Regions from separate parts of the Homo sapiens genome. Here region 2 is linked to region 1. Evidence: promoter capture Hi-C in human tissues and cell types (Jung and others, 2019). All regions are on one chromosome and are shown on one strand. The core of a region is centred on a gene start or on the middle of the fragment in contact, and the rest is flanking DNA. Distances in the headings are between cores, read along the strand shown. Region 1 holds the start of SOAT1 (sterol O-acyltransferase 1). Region 2 overlaps LOC105371631 (a long non-coding RNA gene).

Evidence for each region. The method cuts DNA at HindIII sites, captures the fragments that hold promoters and counts their contacts. A contact is called where the count stands out against the background at its distance.
Region 2: a contact is called between a fragment that was not itself captured here and the fragment with the promoter of SOAT1 in region 1, in 2 of the 25 tissues and cell types used here (lymphoblastoid cells and mesenchymal stem cells).

What each region holds. Positions count from the first base shown.
Region 1 is chr1:179,291,061-179,295,621 of GRCh38, reverse strand. It overlaps SOAT1 (sterol O-acyltransferase 1), which reads right to left and starts at 1,825. Exons shown (of 16, transcript NM_003101.6): 1 at 1,686-1,825. RefSeq lists an enhancer at 1,121-1,628 and a silencer at 1,841-2,030. The HindIII fragment of the contact is 6,238 bases long and covers 1-2,915 here.
Region 2 is chr1:178,525,093-178,529,653 of GRCh38, reverse strand. LOC105371631 (a long non-coding RNA gene) reads left to right here. Exons shown (of 5, transcript XR_922310.3): 2 at 507-641; 3 at 1,515-1,624; 4 at 2,353-2,435; 5 at 3,256-3,489. Among named protein-coding and RNA genes, the nearest start is that of TEX35, 14 kb to the right of the region's middle. The HindIII fragment of the contact is 4,114 bases long and covers 1-3,888 here.

The sequences.
Region 1 (4,561 bases), core at 576-3,075:
ACCTCAGGTAGCTGAAACTACAGAAAGCAGTTAAGTGGGGATCACTGTATTTCTCATTCAAAAGTTCCTTCCTCTGTCCACCAACTTATTCATTCTTTCTCTGGGCCAAGTGCTGGACCAGACCCTGAAAATTACAACAGGCTAAACCAGCCTTCATGAAATGCACTAGCAGAGGAAACAAAGCAACTAATTCATTACAATTAATGATCAACTTCTGCTAAGGAGAATAAAGAGTTCATGGAGGGCTTAATGGGGATGGGGTGATTTCCAGAGGAAGTGATATGTGGGCTGATATCTGAGGCAGGTATAAGAGTTGGAGGGAGGGAGAGAATACAGCATTAGAGGTGGAGGAAACTCCTAAAAGCCAAGAGAGGAAAGAAAATGAAGCTTTCCAGTAACAAAAATAAAGCCAGTGTGGCATGAACCTGGAAAGCCAGAAGGAAAGTGGGCCAAATGAACCAGAGATAGAGTGTGCTCACTCAGTAGGTCTTTATCCTAAAAGACTGCGAAACCTCAGATGCATTCTAAGCATGTGATTCACTAAAACACGTGCATTTCTAAACGATAATTCAGTGCCACAGAGCTCCTTCCAAAACCCATTCTCACACCCAGACAACGCACAGACTTCCTTAACAAGTCATTCACTGACACCGCCCAACTTTTAAAAAGAAAAAAAAAAAGCTTCAAATTGAATTCTACTTCAAGGAAGAGGAAATCAAGCAGGCTGAAAAAAAGAAAAAAGTGGTTTAAACAGGTGGCAGCCACTTAAATATTAAAAAGTGACCAACAGGCCAGGCGCGGTGGCTCACGCCTGTAATCCCAGCACTTTGGGAGGCCGAAGCGGGCGGATCACTTGAGGTCAGGAGTTTGAGACCAACCTGGTCCAACATGGTGAAACCCCGTCTCTACTAAAACTACAAAAATTACCTGGGCGTGGTGGCGCACGCCTGTAATCCCAGCTACTCAGGAGGCTGAGGCACAAGAATCGCTTGAACCCGGGAGGCAGAGGTTGCAGTGAGCCGAGATTGCGCCACTGCACTCCAGCCTTGCGACACAGCGAGACTCCGTCTCAAACAAACAAAAGTGACCAACGAACTTAACCTAAATATATATACGGAGAATAAAGTTTATATAGTTGTTTCTCACTTAGAAATAACCTTTCAATATACATATTATTTAAATTACATGACCATTAACACTTAGGGAAAACAGAAACTTACCTACATCCTAATATTTTACAATAAAACATGAGCTTGATTAAAGGTTCTGGTGCCCCTACAGATTTTCATGTCTTGCTAATACCATCCTTCCCTTCACACATTTTCTCTAAATCATTAAAAAGCTGACTTCCTGAGTGCATTTTTGGTTTCGCTTTTTAAAGAATAAAACGTCTTCTAATTCCTAACTTTCTTTACTACTGACTTGAGAGATGCCACGAGATTTGCGGAACACCAAACCAGCGTGCAGGGTTTAAAAGGCTGCCCGTGACCCGGGCGCCTGACGGTAACTTTCCCGCCCTCCCCTCCCCAACTCCCCTGCAGTCGCCGAGCCTCGCCTTCTCCGCAGCACAGCCCAGGACAAGGCCGGGCCGGAGCTGCTGCCGCCACCGCTTCTCCCTTCCCCGCGGGCTGAGGCCGGTGGACCCAAGCGGGAAGCGAGGAGAGGCGCGGGAGCACCACCGTTACCTGAGGCCCGCGCCCGGCAGCGGGCACTTCGGCCAAGAGGGCAGAGCCGGGAAGCGGTCACAGAGCAGCCAGCAGGAAGGTCGACTCCGGGAAGCTCTCCTGGCGCCCAGGGCCCGCAACGTCGCCTGCTAAGCTAAAGCGCCGGACAGCCCGGCCCCTACGCCCCCTGCCTCCGAGCACCGCTGCGTCACGCGCAGGGCCACCTCCGGCTGAGCATCCTATTGGTGGTCCCCAGGTTGCCAGGCTCCGCCCACCTCCCCGCCCCTTCCCGGGCGCGCGGGTCCCCGGCGCCAGTGCTCGCAGGCTGGCCCTGGCAACCTGCCAAGGAAGCTTCTCACCCGGACATCATGATACCGGCGACAACATCTTGCTTGACACTTCCACCCCAGCAGTAGAATGTGCAGCCAAAACGGGACTGCGACAACTCCCTGCAAGCCCGAAACGGCACCCTGCGTGGTAGCATGGAGCTGCAGGGGCGTTTGGCTCCTAGGCCGACTGGAAGAAGCCGCTTCTGGAGCTGTGGATCATTGCAGTTTGAACTGACCATCCAGGAACAACGTAGAACTAGCCAGAAGCAAGAATCGCTGGCTTATCTGCACACCAAGATTCGTGCCTTTATCAGGAGATTCCTTACCGTTTGAAAACCAGCGTCCTTCAGCAACATTCAAACTAGATAAGGGGAAAAAACCTGCACCAAATAATAAAACACACCAAATAATGGAACAACTAAGTAATATTTAAGGGCCCTTGAGGCCAGGTGCGGTGGCTCACGCCTGTAATCCCAACACTTTGGGAGACCGAGGTGGCTGGGTCACCTGAGGTTAGGATCGAGACCAGCCTGACCAACATGGTGAAACCCCGTCTCTACTAAATACAAAAAATTAGCCGGGCTTGGTGGCGCGCGCCTGTAATCCCAGCTATTCGGGAGGCTGAGGCAGGAGGATTGCTTGAACCCGGAAGCCAGAGGTTGCAGTGAGCCTAGATTGTGCCATTGCACTCCAGCCTGGGCAATAAGAGCTAAACTCCTTCTCAAAAAAAGTTTTAAAAATAAAATAAACAAAGGGCCCTCGTGACTTCATAATCAAAAGAAGAATGATGCAGAGAGATTTGGGACAGAGATTAAATACAACAGTTAATCGCTTGGAATTTGTGAAGGCAGAGGTGTACGTAAATTTAGGGTAAAGGTAGGTGAAAAGGCAATGATGAGAGGAGCAGAGACTGAAGAGTCGCACTCACAGCCTGCAAACTAATACCAGCTAGCCTGGCCTGACTAATCGCTTCTTCCCCACTCCTCCCCAGGACAAAAATCCCTGAACAAACAGATGAGGTTTAGCAGAACTGACTACTCTCTGGGTCCTTTAAACAAAGTGGATTTGTACACGTTCCCTTGGCCACCCAGCAGGCTGCACTGTTCACTCAAAGCAGAAATGGCCCTCAGCATCCAGTCGAGTTTAGTACTGGCTGTCATTGGCAGATCTGCTCCGTTTGGCCTCTTCTACAACTGTGATTGCCACGTGTGCTGACTAGTTGGTGACAGGGTCTGGTAGACCCCCAGCTGCTTCCCCTCCCCACTCCCACTAGTTATAGAGCAGTAGGAACATAGGCACTCATTTCTATTGGGTCTCTGTTGGCTACCTTCTATATACACCAAGATGACTGGCCTTTTCACTGTTTGATTCATTCATTCAAAAAATATTGATAGTATTCTTGGTGCTAGAAATACAGTGGTGAATAAACAGAAGAAGCCCCTGCACTTAGAGGCTTATGTTCTGCAGGACTAGGTATGAAAGGAAACAAACAGGTGGCTCAAGCCTATAATCCCAGCACTTTGGGAGGCTGAGGCAGGAGGATCACTTTGAGGCCAGGAGTCCAAGACCAGCCTGAGCAACATAGTGAGACTCCCTCTCTACAGAATTTAAAAACAACAACAACAACAACAACAATGACAACAAAATTTGCTGGGAATTGTGGCAGGCCCCTATGGTCCCAGCTACTCGGGAGGCTGAGATAAGAGGATTGCTTGTGGTGGGGGATGGGGGGTGAGGGACGGAGGATGCAGTGAGCCAAAAAATCATGCCACTGCACTGCAGCCTGGTCAACACAGTGGGACTCTGTCTCAAACAACAAAAGCTTATGTTTCTAATGAAGAATATAAATAATAAAACGAATAGATGAGATAATCACTGGCAGTGATAAGTACTGAGCAGAAAACAAAACAGAATGGTCAGGGAAGGATTTTCTGAGGAGATAATTCAGGAGCTAAGACCTAAATGACAAGAAGGAGCCAGCCAAGCCAACCATGGGGAGGAAGAACATTCTAGACAGAGGATAATGGGTGTCAAGGCCCCGATGCTGAACTGTGGCTGATGCTGAAGCGTGGCTGTTTGAGGAACAGGCCAGGAGGCTTGAGCATGTCAAATAGGGGTTTGAAGTTGAGTTTGGAGCATTAAGCAGGAACCTAATCACGTTGTTTGGATTTATCTGTTAAGTGCAAAGGCAAGATAATGAAGGGTTTGGGTTTTTGTTGTTTTGAGATGGGGTCTCACTCTGTCGCCCAGGCTGGAGTGCAGTGGTGCAATCAGGGCTCACTGCATCCTCTACCTCCCCAGGCTCGCTAAGTCATCTTCCCACCTCAGCCTCCCTAGTACCTGGGACTACAGGTGGGCGTCACCACACCAGACTAATTTTTGTATTTTTTGTAGAGACAGGGTTTCGCTGTGTTGCCCAGGCTGGTCCTGAACTCCTGGGCTCAAGTGATCCTCCCGCCTCAGCCTCCCAAACTGCTGGGATTACAGGCATGAGCCACGTGCCCGGCCATTGGTTTATTTTTTTTTTTAAATCAACCTATTTTATAGAGAATGACTTGAAGGGAGCAG
Region 2 (4,561 bases), core at 582-3,081, 770 kb after region 1:
CTGCAGCATCCACCAATTTGTATCTGGATCCGGCTGGCTGTGACCTCTGAGCTCCTCCTATCTCACCTGCTATCTCTAAAAGAGTTGCTGGCCCCAGAGGGCCACAGGGCAAAGGGAGCAAAGTGCTGGGCCGGGAGCCAGAAAACCTGGGCTGTAGTCCTGGCCTGGCCACAGCGGAGGGCGCCTCGCCACACACCTCTGGACCTCAAACCCCTCACCTGTAAATGGAAGAGATTGACCAGACCATCTCCAAGATCTCTTCTGTGTGGCCTTAGCTAAGGCTTGTTTGGTGATAACAGAAGCCCACTCTGCCTAAACAGGAATGGGTGATATAGTCCAAGAGGCCAGGGGGTCCCTCAGAGCTAAGGTGGGAACTACAACTGGACCAAGAGGGCCTGGGACCCGGAGAGTGGCTCTTGCAGCCCCCTCTTTGGATTGCAGGGCCTTTCCCTCCACTCCTCCACTTCATTCTTCTCTTTCTGTGAACTGGTTTTCTTTTCCAACAGATCAGCTTTTTCTGCATCTTCAGCTAACGGTGGCAGATGGCAACCCAGCTCCCAGTTACATATCTTCAATTCTGGGGCCAACTGAGCTCTCACCAAATTCCAGTTCCAAATCCCCAGGGAAAGGAATCCAACTGGGTGAGCTGGGTTTGGCATCCACCCCGGTCCAGTCAACCGGCTCCTGATTATGTCCAGGAGGGCAGGGTCCCATGGCACAGAAGTAGGGGCCTGGGTCAGGGAGATGCCCACCATGGCTCTGTACACAGGACAGGAATAGTATTTTTAGGAAAAGAGACAAAATTAAGTATCATTCTGTCCCAGAGGAGGTGACATTGAGACCTACGAATAAAGCACAAGCTTGCCAGTAAAGCTGGCCTGTGCGCAGTGTCAGCAGGAACGTCTGGCGGTGGCTCCCTGCAGGTCTCTCCCCAGGGGCACAGGAAACAGCTTTTTGACAGCCAGGCAAGCCTGTCCCTGAAACACACACAGATGTCCTGTTGCCTGTGAGTTGGGTGACATGGGACTGGGGCATGAGGGGGCTTGGGAAAGATCAAGGGATGGGGAAGGCAGAGACCACTGCCACCAGTCCTCGGCACTGAATTAGAGCTGCAGCATCATTTCCATAAAGAAGTTAGTGCCTCAGCAGATTGTGGCAGCTCAGTTTCCCTGATGACTTTGCTTCTGTTCTTAAAACTGGCACCTACGTAGGCTGGGAGGCAGCCTTGCTCATCCCGTCTGCCAGCCTGGCACCATGGTGATGTATGTATATTTCCAGATATGATCTGGGATGGACACTGGATAGTATGGAGAATTTTCTTGGGATCGCCCCCAAACCTGCACAGTCCCGGAGGGCTCCATGTGACAGGAGACCCCTGTTGGCACCCCAGGACCCTCGGGGATGTCCACAGTCCCAAGGCCACAGAGCCAAGAGGGCAGGAGTGGGTCAGAAGGGCCAACATGTGAATCTGTCAGGCTAGGCAGCAAAAGTTCAACCAAAAAATTTTTCCTCAGCCCCTGCCAAGTGCAGGGTTCTGACCACCATGCTGAGGATGAAGATGAAGACAGCATAAGCTCTGCCTCTAGAAACTGACAATCTGCATGGAGAGGAAAGACATATGCAGGTTGGAACAGTAAGATGGGAAACACCTCTACACGGCCGAGTGACCTATTCCTTGGGTCAATGAGGAGCTGTTAGAGCAGAGGGCAGTGCAGCGGGGATGATGGGAGATTCCTGGAGCTCAGAGAAGAAGGGGAGTGAAGGCAAGGATATGGGAATGTGAAGGGCACATTTGGGACCCTAGAGTGTAGGGTTTACAGATAGGAACGGGGGAGAAAAGGTGAAAAATAATATGGGAAATGCAAGGCCTTGAACGGCAGGTTAAAGAGTGTGTCTGTTATCCCACCAGTAATCAGCCCTGGGGATGGTTTTTGAGCAAGACGGTGAGTTGCAGAGTAAAGTAGTAGTTCGGGAGGAAATCTCTGGAAGTGGCGTGGACAATGGATTCCAGGCTGTGAGAAGAAACTCCTGGAGTCAAGAGGACTGGGTCAGAAGCTACTGGACATAGCTCAGGATCCAGACACTAAGAGCTTGGATTAGAGTGTGTATGGGAGAGGGGAGAATTCAGGAATAAACATTTGAAATGGTTAAAGGCCATGGGACCCAGGTGCTCATTTGCTATGGGAGATGGAGAAGATGTGAAGCTTTAATGACTAACGTGGTACCAAGGGCAGAAAAAGGGCATGCTCTCCACAGCCACGCAGCCATCAAGTGGCAGGGGCAGGGCATAATCAATGAATTCTACACAGTCTCTGCCCTTAAGGGACTCACATCCTCTTTTTTCATCCTCAGCTCTTCGGAAAAGGCCCTAAGAAGCCATCAAAGATATGTCATGGAGGAAGCCATCGAAGAGGAAAGAGGAAGCTTTGTAACAGGTACTTTACCTGTATTCTCAGAAATCCTCAAAATAACCAAAGGAGCTCTGGGACCAGCTGCTCAGGGCAGGGGGCTCTGAGCTCCACAGCACTCCAGGTTTCCTCCAGGGATGTTTAGTCCAGGGCACCAAGTGGACAGGCAAACAGACAGGCTGGTGAAAGCCCTGTGGGGGGATGAGGTCCAACCTTTGGCTGGAGATCAGCCTGTGCTCTAGCTGTCAGAGAACTGAGCAAAGACAAGGACTCCCATCAGCAAGTCAGACAGAGAAGGGTTTGGGGACACGGGGAAGTTTGGTTTTGGCTGTGTTGAAGTTGACAGGATGATGAGGCCCTGAAACAACAGGTAGATCCAAGCTTGGGTGACAGGTCAGGGCTTGAGTCCAAGGCTTGGGGTCACCTGCCAGAGACCGTGATTTGAGGCCACTGGTCAAGTTCATGCTTCTTTTCTTTCTTTTTTTTTTTTTTTTGAGATGGAGTCTCACTCTGTCCCCCAGGCTGGAGTGCGATGGTGCAATCTCGGCTCACTGCAACCTCTGCCTCCCGGGATTAAGTGATTCTCCTGCCTTAGCCTCCGAAGTAGCTGGGATTACAGGGGCCCACCACCATGCCAGGCTAATTTTTGTATTTTTAGTAGAGATGGGGTTTCTCTATGTTGGTCAGGCTGGTCTCAAACTCCTGACCTCAGGTGATCCACCCACCTTGGCCTCCCAAAGTGCTGGGATTACAGTCATGAGCCACCGCAGCTGGCCAAGTTCATGATGCTTTAGAGCAAAGTTGACATTGGTACCTCTTAAACAAATTTATATTCCCTCTCAACCAGTTTACCTGGGAGGAATAACAAGCTGCCATATGAATACTGATGAGAAAGGAGGTGGGAGAGACATTTGATCATCAATCAAGTTATGATTATGAACACTCAGTTAAGAAAGAAATGTGAAGTCAGTGTTCCTGAACATGAAGAACAAGACCAGGGGTTGGGTTTTGGAGTCACACGGACTTTTTTTGTTCCAGCTCATTTGTCTTTTTACCCATTAATAAATTAATCTAAACTCTAGATTCCAGAGCCAGTTTGATCTCTTTCAGGAGGCCCTGTGTCAATTTGGTTTCGACCTCCTGGTCCTGAGGGTTGATACTGAGTGCTACATACTCATTCACTGAGCAGTGTGTTAATTCTGGGGCTGCTGTGTTGAGTGAGACAGACTCAATTTCTACCCTCCAACTCCAAGAAGGAAGTGAAGTAGGTCCCTAGAAAAATGTCAGGTAATTAAGGGAAAAGCCTAGGGGTCATCCATGTTGAGAATGGAGGCAGATGCTATGGTCTGAAAGTTTATGTCCCTCAGAACTTGTATGCTGAAACCTAACCTCCAAGGGGATGATGGATGGTATTAGAGTTGGGGGATTGGGTCATGATGGCAGCACCCTCACGAATGGAATTAGTGCCTCTTATAAAAGAGAGACCTCTTGCCCCATCTACCATGTGAAGACACATGAGAAGATGCCATCTGTGACCCAGGAAATGCCTGCATTAGAAACCAGATCTGCCGGTGCCTTGAGCTTGAACTTTACAGCCTGCAGGACTGTGAGAAATAAATCTCTGTAGTTTATAGGCTGCTCCATTTACGATATTTTGATATAGTAGCCCAAACTACTAAGACAGTGGAGGAAGAGTAACCAAGAGAGATACAAAAGAAGTTAGGGGTAGAACAGGAGTCAAGGAAACCGGGGAATTCAAGGAAGATCGATTACTCACCAGGGTCAAAAGCAGGAACTCAATCAGAAGAACAAGAGCTGCAGAAGGGTCAATAGAATTGGCTGTCAGGAGGTGACGAGCTTCCTTTAGGGGAGCAGCTTCAAGAGAAAAGCAGGCAGAGGACAGGCATTCAGGGCTAAGCAGAGTAGGCATGGGGAGGCAGGCAGGCCCTTTCGTACACTCCTCAGTGAAGAGGAAGCAGTGTAACCCACCAGGCACTGTGGACTAAGGAAAGTGTTCAAATATAGGGAAGAATGGACAGAGGGCAACTGGGAAAATGGCTTTTACTTAGATTATTTTAAAGAACAATCTGGACTACCAACAGGAGAATAGAAAAATAGATTATGAGGTAGACACAAGATAGAAACTTCATGGC